Regions from separate parts of the Homo sapiens genome. Here region 2 is linked to region 1. The links are contacts of gene promoters, found by promoter capture Hi-C in human tissues and cell types (Jung and others, 2019). All regions are on one chromosome and are shown on one strand. The core of a region is centred on a gene start or on the middle of the fragment in contact, and the rest is flanking DNA. Distances in the headings are between cores, read along the strand shown. Region 1 holds the start of PCDH8 (protocadherin 8). Region 2 has its middle 81 kb from the start of OLFM4.

The links. Contacts are between HindIII fragments. The study calls those that stand out against the background at their distance.
Region 2: a fragment that was not itself captured here is called in contact with the fragment with the promoter of PCDH8 in region 1 in 2 of the 25 tissues and cell types used here (H1 embryonic stem cells and dorsolateral prefrontal cortex).

The regions. Positions count from the first base shown.
Region 1 is chr13:52,845,901-52,850,480 of GRCh38, forward strand. PCDH8 (protocadherin 8) reads right to left here and starts at 2,740. Exons shown (of 3, transcript NM_002590.4): 1 at 1-2,740. The coding sequence starts at 2,536. RefSeq lists enhancers at 925-1,813, 1,814-2,703, 2,834-3,128, 4,474-4,580. The HindIII fragment of the contact is 11,047 bases long and covers 1-4,580 here.
Region 2 is chr13:52,945,791-52,950,370 of GRCh38, forward strand. No RefSeq gene overlaps it. Among named protein-coding and RNA genes, the nearest start is that of OLFM4, 81 kb to the right of the region's middle. The HindIII fragment of the contact is 3,578 bases long and covers 559-4,136 here.

The DNA of each region.
Region 1 (4,580 bases), core at 1,490-3,989:
CGGCGACCGCAGGCGGAGGCGCGTCCGCCGCGGGGCTGCCAAAGGGCGCTTTGCCGGTGCCAGGGAAGGTGAGCACGTCGAACATGTTGGGCCTGGGCCCGGCTCCCCGGGCGGCCTCCTCCGGGGAGCCGGGAGCCGAGGCTCCGCCGCCCGCCGCCCCGGGCCGCTCTTCCCGGAGGGCCCCCCCTTTGCGCACCTCCTTCTTGCGGCGGTTGCAGGTGGTGGCGATGGCGATGATGGCGGCCAGCAGCAGCGTGCAGCTCCCGGCCAGCACGATGATGACGATCAGCGGCGTGTCCCATTGCAGCACCGACCCGGACACCCCGAGCCGAGAGCCAGGCGGGCGGGAACGCTCCGGGCTTCCTGCACTGGCAGGCGCAGCCGGCCCACGCCCGCCCCCTGCTGTTACCACGAAGCTGACAGTTGCGGTGGTGGTGAGCGGGGGACGGCCGCCGTCGGATATGACCAGGAGCGCCCTGAACACGCGACCGGGTGGCTCCTGCGAGAGGTCGCCGGTGAGCAGTATCTCCCCCGTGCGGCGGCCGATGGCGAAGGCTTCGCGCGGCTCCTGCTGCTGCAGCTCGAACGCCAGCTCCCCGTTGGCTCCCTCGTCTGCATCCCGGGCCTGCACACGGGCCACAACCGTGTCCTTTGCGGTGCGCCCAGGCACCGCCACTTCTAGGGAGCCATTGGCTGGCGCCGGGTGCACCAGGACTGGCGCATGGTCGTTCTGGTCCAGCACGCGCACTTGCACTAGGGCGCTGCTGGAAAGCTGAGGGGAGCCGCCGTCGCTAGCTTGGATGCGAACGTCGAGTTGGCGCAGCGTCTCATAGTCGAAGCTGCGCAGCGCGTAGATGGCTCCGGTAGCTGGGTCCACCGAGACATAAGTGGACACGGCGCCCCCGGCGCGGCCCACCTCGGCCTCCAGCAGCCGGTAGGTGACCTGGCCGTTGCGGCCCAGGTCCCGGTCGCGGGCGGCCACCGTGGCCAGGTAGGCGCCTGGCGGGTTGTTCTCGCGCACCGACACCTCATAGACCGGCCGCGTGAAGAGCGGCGCGTTGTCGTTCTCGTCGCCCACACGCACCGTGTAGGGCCGCACTGTGCGCAGCGGGGGCGCGCCGCGATCCTCGGCCACCAGCGTCAAGTTGTACTCGGCGATGCGTTCGCGGTCCAGCGACGCCGCGGTCACCACCAGGTAGCTGCCCGCGTAGGCCGGCTGCAGCCGGAAGTGCTCGTGCCCATAGAGGGCGCAGCGCACTTGCCCGTTGGCGCCCGAGTCCCTGTCCGAGGTGCTGACCAGGGCCACCAGGCTCTCGCGCGCCGCCCCCTCCGGCACCAGCGAAGTGGCACCAGCCTCCGGCGTCCCGGCTCCCGCCGGCGAGCTAGCGTCCGCTCCCCCGAGTGCAGCGGCGGCGGCGGCAGCGGCGAAGGGTGAGGTTGCCGGCGCGCCTGGGGCGGCCAGCGGGGTGATGGCGATGTCGGGTGCGTTGTCATTGACGTCTCGGATGCGCACGATGACCTTGCAGGTGGCAGCGCGGGGCCCGGGTCCGCGGTCCTGCGCCCGCACGTCCAGCTCGTAGGTGTCCTGACGCTCGTAGTCCACGGGCCCGGCCAGGGTGAGGCGGCCTGATCGCGGGTCAAGCCGAAAGAGGCGGCGCGCCTCCGGCGGGGTGCGGGCGCCAAATGCGAACACCACGTCGCCGTTAGGTCCCTCGTCGGGGTCGGCTGCGTCCAGGTCGAGAAGCAGGGAGCCCACGGGCGCGTCTTCCGCCAGCTCCACTTCGGCCACGGCGCCCTGCGGGAAGGCCGGGCTGTGGTCATTCGCATCCAGGACGCGCACGCTGAGGGCAGCCGTGGCGGAGCGCGGCGGGCGGCCGCCGTCCTGGGCCACCAGCTCCAGGCTGTAGGCGGCCTGGCTCTCGCGGTCCAGCTCCTGCAGCAGCACCAGGTCTGCGCACTGAGCGCCGTCCGCTCGCGTCTGCAGCTCCACGCGAAAGGGGCTGTGCGGCTCGGCCAGGCGCACGGTCTGCAGCCCGTTGGCGCCCACGTCCTCGTCCACCGGCACCTCCAAGGGGATGCGCGTGCCCACTGCCGCACCCTCGGACACCTCTACCGGGATCTGGGCCCTGGGGAAGCGCGGCGCGTGGTCGTTGACGTCCCTCACCTCTACCTCCACGTGCACCAGCCGGAACTGCTCCTGCGAGAAGCTGACCACATCGAAGGCCAGCACGCACTGCGGGGCCTGGCCACACAGCCGCTCGCGGTCCAGGCCGGCGTCCCCGACGGTCAGCTGCCCGTCGCCTTCGCGCACCCGGAGCAGAGAGCTGTTGAATTGCTTCATCAGGCGGAAGCTTGTGTCACCCGATACTTTCATATGCAGGTCCTCGGCCAGGGTCCCGATGACCGTGCCGGGGGCATCCTCCTCGAAGGTGCTGTATCGGACTGTTTTGCTCTGGGCCACTGAGAGCACCCAGCAGAGGCTGAAGAGCTGCAAGGGGAAAAGGCAGGGGCTGCCCCAACGCCTCACAGGACTCATGCCTCCAGCCTCAAGTGCGATCCGAAAGGCTAAGGAAGTCTTCTCTGGTTTCCAGGTCGGGCGTCAGTCTCAGGCTCTCGGAATCACGCTCTTTGCGAGCCCTGTGCGGGAGAAGTCTGCGGGTAGCAGCTCCGAGCCTCCAGCGGGCTCTGAGGACGCGCGGACCCGCCCTCACTCTGCGCCTCTCCGTCTCTTACAGAAGCTGCGCCGCCTCGCGCCGCCTTTGCCTTTATAGCCGCCGATATGCTAATCACCCGAGCCGGGTAGCCAATGGCCGCCTCCCCCTCGCGTCGCCCCTCCGCCTGCCTCTGACAATCCCTTTAATGTGGAAAGGCTTAGAGGGGAAAACAAGAAAGGAAAATTAGGGAATCTTTCTTTTGTTTAACTCCTTTTGCTTTTTCCCCCTTTTCTTGTCAGCACCCTGCATGTAGAGGAGTTGGCACAGGGCTCCAGGAGTAAAAGGAGCGGATGGTTTTGTTAATTGTCGCCTGCCTCCCTCCGTGCCGCGGCTAGAACTAAGTGCGAACACGCTGGGGTTTCACCCCAGTGGCTCCTGATTCCGCCTTCCCCCAGCCCCTGCCAACACACACACTCTGCATTTTGCACCTCTGACGCTTCCAAACCCTTGCAGCCCCCTACCCACAGACTTGCTCTGCTGAATGAGGCTCTGCTTTCCTTCTCTCCTAGCTACGGTGCCTGGAATAGCCTCTCGATTAAGAAGCCTGAAGGATAAGGGAAAATTGATTTTATTCAAATTTGTGTACTCAATTGTGTTTTGCTCGTGTGAGCCCCAGTGATCAGAGCTGCCACTTCCCTTTCAGAAAAGAGCCCCGCGATATGTTAGTATGCACGTCACTGTCCAAGTGGCCTTCTTAAGCCCTGGGAGCTAGCAGGCAAGGAAAAAAAAGTTCCAAATAGGATTTAGCATAAGCTTGAGGAGATTTGGAAAGGTTTCAAAGATCAGACTGTATCAAAGGCTTATGAAGCCCTCGTTAGCAGTGGAAATAGAATGGTGTGGCAGGCGATCCCATTGGAGGCCCCAATGTCTGTATTATTTCACTGTGACAAGCTAAGGGGAGAGAAAGTTGAACAGTTTCCACAGCGGAGTTGGACTAACTTGAATATAATGAGCAAACGCCACATGTATCCATTATGTTCCTCTATTCATCCCCAATCACTGCCATAACTCTCCGGCTAAACGGTGATGGGCGCTGAATTCCACACAATACCCGGCTCGTATTAAAGTGCATTTAGAGAACTTTTTCCTCCTGATGCCTTGTTCCGCCTATTTAGAGGATTTTCTTTCTGTTCTAATAGGGCCACTCTGGGAAGCAACACTCGTCCGGTTCCAGAAGAACAAAATCACAGCGTGACGTTGAAACCTGGCAGGAACGTGGGGGGAACTTAACCATCTGCTTAGGAAAGTGTGGAGCTTCGGCACTGCCAAAATCTGGGCTGGGCGGATCCTGGGGCTGGCCGGGCGCTGCGCTGCCCCACAGATAGCCCCCTCCCATCCCTGACGGCCAGGGAGATGGAGCTCGGATCTGCAACAAGACGGATTCTTAATGATTCTTACTGAAGGGCTTTATTGAGCAGGCTATGCAAATACACACGAAGGAGGAAAGGTAAAAAACAAAAGCCACTCACTGGAAGAAATTTTTCTTTTTAGGCGATAGGTTTGGTAAGTAGATTGAATTCAGTAAACATTCTTCAGAATCCCGATTTTGGTCCTGCTGTCAGCGTCCTATCCATGTTTTCCTTTCCCTCAAACTCGAGGGAGTGTGTTTTGGGTTTTTTTTCAGAAGAGGGTCAGGAGTTTCCTTGGAGTAGGGAGACCAAGCAGGGAGCTGGGTGGCAGGGATGAGAGGTGCTTGGAATTGTCAGAGAGCGGAACATGCAGCTCCAGCCATCCATAAATACAAGCTCTTATAAGACTGGGGAGGGGGATGATGAGTGGCTGGAGACTTCCTCAGAGGGGTGTGTCTCTGGGTTCCCTTCTCCACCTCTTCCACCTTGTAGTCTTGGGAATGCTAAAAGCAATAAG
Region 2 (4,580 bases), core at 1,098-3,597, 99 kb after region 1:
CTTAAAACAACAGGAATTTATTCTTCTACAGTTCTGAAGGCAAGAAACCTGAAATCAAGTTGTGGGCAGGGCTATGCCCTGTCTACAGGCTCAATGGGAGGATCCTTCCATGCCTCTTTCAGCTTCTGGTGGTTGTCGGAGATGCTTGGCATTCCTTGGCTTGTAGATGCATCACTCCATTCTCTGCCTCCATCTTCACAAGGCCTTCATAGGCTTCTCCTCTGTGTGTCTTCATGCCTTTCTCTCTTTTTATAAGGACACAAGTCGCATTAGATGGGGCCCACCCTAATCCAGTCTGACCTCATCTTAACTTGATTATGTCTGCAAAGAACATATTTCCAGATAAGGTCAAATTCACAGATCCTAGGGGTTAGGACTCAAACACATCCTTTTGGGGTGCCAAGTCAATTTATAACAGATTTCTTCAGTAACTTTGAGAGCTGTTTTTGTGGCAAGATGAGGGAAGATGTCCAGAGTGTGTTGAGAAGAGATCGAGAGGTGGAAAATAATATGGGCTAGCACAAAAAAAAAAACTCTTTTAAGAAATTTGGTTGCATGACTGTTCAAAGTAGCCAAAGTTTGGCAGCAACTTAAATGTTTATCAACAGATGAATGGGGAAAAACATGGCACATATACATGATGGAGTACTATTCAGTCATAAAAAAGAATGAGATCCTGTCATTTGCAACATGGATGGAAGTGGAGGTCATTATGTTACGTGAAATAAACCAGGCACAGAAAGACAAACATTGCATGTTCTCACTTATTTGTGGGATCTAAAGATGAAAACAATTGAACTCATGGTCATAGAGAGTAGAAGGATGGTTACCAGAGGCTGGGAAGGGTAGTAGGGGGTGCAGGAAAGTGGGAATGGTTAATGGGTAGAAAAAACCAGAAAGAATGAATAAGATCTACTACTTGATAGCACAACAGGGTGACTATAGTCAATAATAACTTCACTGTACATTTAAAAATAACTGAAGGAGTATAATTGGATTGTTTATAACACAAAGGATAAGTGCTTGAGGGGATGGATACCCCATCTTCCCTGATGTGATTATTGTGCATTGCATGTATCAAAACATCTCATATACTCCATAAATATATGCACTTACAATGTAACCACAAAAGTTAAAAATGAAACATTTAAAAAAAAAGAAATTTGGCTGCCTAGAGCACTAGAGCAGTAGACCAGTAGACCAGTGTCAGAAAACCTCTGTCTGAGCACCAGCTCCACCACAACTGGTGTGACCTTGGGTCAACCACTTCACCTGTCTGAGCCCTGGTCTCTCATTTGGGGAATGACCATGTTCACTTTAGAGTAAGTTGGAGCTCTTGTGAAGCTTCAAGGAGATAAGGCACAGTAACATTTGCAGACTCTAAAAGCAATAGGAGATGCAAGTGATTATGGTTATGTGGTTTTAGGGAGACTCTGGCCCACATTTGGCAATATGTGTAAGGCAGGAGGCCTAGGTAGAACATCAGGGTTGGGTACCTCCTTCCTTCACTGAGTCTTCTGACCCACCCAGATGACATGAAGACCTCTCTGTTGAGCAGGCTGGGCTTTCTGGCTGCACTCTGACCAGTCTTCCTGGAGGAACTGTGTATGTGTGGTTGTGTGGCATGGTGTTCCTCTGTCCTTGCCCATAGGAGGCTTCCCATCAGTCCAGTGTCTTACACACTCAATCTTGGAACCTCTGACACAGGCAGAGAAGTTGTAGCCTAGAGACTTGGCTCCTGGATGCCAGTGGGGGCCTAGAAGACTCTACCTGCTTAGGTCCAGTGTCTGTCACCAGAGCAGGCCTCTAGCAGCCAAGCCCCAAGACCTTCTGTGGGTTGACAAAGAGGGGGACACTTTGCCCCAGGGGCTGGGGAAACTGGGCAGAAGCTGGTTCTAGAGGTTCCACTGAGCAAGCTGAGGGCAGGCAGGACCCACAGCCTTAAGAGTAACTGGAGAGTTCCCTGCAGGGTGTAACCCGGCAGCGATGGGGCTGCAGGCAGCAGTCCCTCCCGCCCCTGCCCCTGGAGTCAGGGAAGCAGAGAGTGGTGGTATACTCTGTGAGGAAGGCCAGATTGTCCTCTCAAGGAAGAGGCTGGTTGGCTACAGGGGCTTGTTTCTAGCAATGATTAATTTACTCCTTGCTGGATTTGTTGGATGTCAGACCCAGGCGCTGAGCTGGGTGGCTGGGGAAGTGCCAGGGTTGAGAGGCTGCAGCAGCGGGGCTGAGTGGCAGAGACACCAGCAGGCGTGGGGGTTTACCAAGTGCAGGGTGTCTTAACAGGAAGAGAAACTCCCTCCAAAGCAGACCTTATGTGCACATCACCCAGAGATCTCTTTAAAATGCAGATTTGTTTACATTAGGTCTGGGGTAGGGCTAGAGGTTCTGCATTTCTAAAAAGTTCCCCGGTGATGCCCATGCTGCTGTCTCACAGACCACACTTTTGGTAACAAGGGTAGGGGAAGGGGGGTTAAGAGTCAGCACTCAAGGGAATCTCATGGCATTCAATTGCAGGGGCTGCAGCCAAGTCTCCCAGGAATCAGGAGTTGTCAGCAGGGACAGATTGTCTCTCTGGAGCTGCACTGGTCTCTTGTCTGCACATCTGCTCTTTTCTCCTCTAGTCTGGCTTCCTCTGCAAGCAGTTGTAACTTGGCTTGCCCTTGACTGTCCTTACCATTGCAAGGACCCTGACCTCAGCCTCACAGCACCAGCACCCAACTCTGTGGGGGCTGTAGCTTTTTTGTCTCTTCAGACTTGTTTTTCCTCTCAAGATTCTGATTGGTTTAGCCCTGTCAGGTGACCACACTCAGTTTAAGCAGCTGTGCTAAGGGGCCAACATGCAGAGCTTCTCTGGAGCCCTTTCAAGCAAGGTTAGGGGACCCCACCCAGTGGGAAGACTCAGTGAGGTGGGTTAAGAAAAATGCAGCCTAGCCAGGCGTGGTGGCTCACGCCTGTAATCCCAGCACTTTAGGAGCCAACGCTGGTGGATCACGAGGTCAGGAGTTCAAGATCAGCCTGGCCAATATGGTGAAACCCCGTCTCTACTAAAAATACAAAAATTAGACGGGCGTGGTGGCGGGGGCCTGTAATCACAGCTACTTGGGAGGCTGAGGCAGAGAATTGCTTGAACCCTGGAGGCGGAGGTTGCAGTGAGCCGAGATCACACCACTGCACTCCAGCCTGGGTGACAGAGTGGTGAGACTCCATCTCAAAAAAGAAAAGAAAAGAAAAGAAAAGAAAAATGCAGTCTTGATAAACTTTTTCAAACATTATCAGAAACTTTAAAAAAAGTGAAAATTTCAGCATATATTTTGGCTGCTTTCCAAAATGCACATTTAGTTTGTATTATTCATGGAACTAGGTGGGTGGGCACCATAATCTTCTTGCTAAAGGCCCTGGAAGGAGCAAGGGCTTAGGGTGAGCCCCAAATATGCCTCAAAGAGAAGTCAACAGGGGGCGTGTAGAGACCAAGGACCTGTGGACTGAGACACATTAGGAGGTGGAGGAGGAAAGAACCTGAGATGGGGCTGTTTGTTGGTTCATGTGCCCCAGGTCAGATCAACTGTGAAGAAGCTGCTGTAGCATCTTTGTAGCCCAGGAACAATGACCCAGGCACTAGATCTCAGGTGCATGAGGAGGGACTGAATTTAAGTGACAGCAATAGAGTCTGGAGATGGGGAAGGGTTATGGCTCATTCACTTGGGTTTCTAGACCTAAAAATGTACAGATATGGAAACAAGACCTACAGAGATTCTGACCCACTCAAGGTTAACCTCCCAGTTGTGGCTGAGCTAGCCAAGAAAGTCAGTGTCCTGACACCCAGCCATGAGCTTTTCTGAAATTGAGGGGACTCTTAAGAATACATAATACTACTAAGCTTTTCGTTCACACAGAGTTTGCAAAGCAGTCATGGAGGACTCTCTGAAGAAGGGCAAACGGTCCCTGATGGGGAGGAGCTGCTTGCTGCAGGAGCTCGTTGCCAGCAATTATTAATTCACTCCTGCTGGATCCGTCTTGGGGGCCTCCCGCGCACAATAACATTAGGAGTGTTGGCAGCTGCGGAGGGAGAAGCCCTGCTCAGAGGGAGGAAGGTGGGACTCGTCACAAGGTTGCTCTGCTCCCAGTTCCTGCTCTTGGGAGAAATGCTCAGTGCTTTTGGGCCTGGGATCAGGCTGCTAAGGACACAGTGTTCTGGGGATGGTGGCAGATCTTGGAGAAGGGACAGAAACTGGGCCAAGAGACTGGAACTTATGCAAATCAGGCCTGAGGATGGCTCAAGGAGGGGGCAGCCCCTGCCTCATGCCTCCTCCCTCAATATATCCAGAGCCAAACACCTCAGGAATGAGGAAAAAGAAATCTTCAGGAGGAACATAATCTTTCACCATCAATGCTAAGCTTTGTAGGAGGGTGTGTAGGTGTGTATGTGTAGGGAAAGCAGTGAGCCCTCGTTTTCTCTTGAATCCTTTCTTGCTAAAATATTCCACACTTCTAAATGCCTATGGGGCAGAGAGGTTTAGCAGAAAGAAAACTTGGTGGGTAAAGAAGCAGGAGAACAGGGTTAATAATTGCATTAGGCCTGG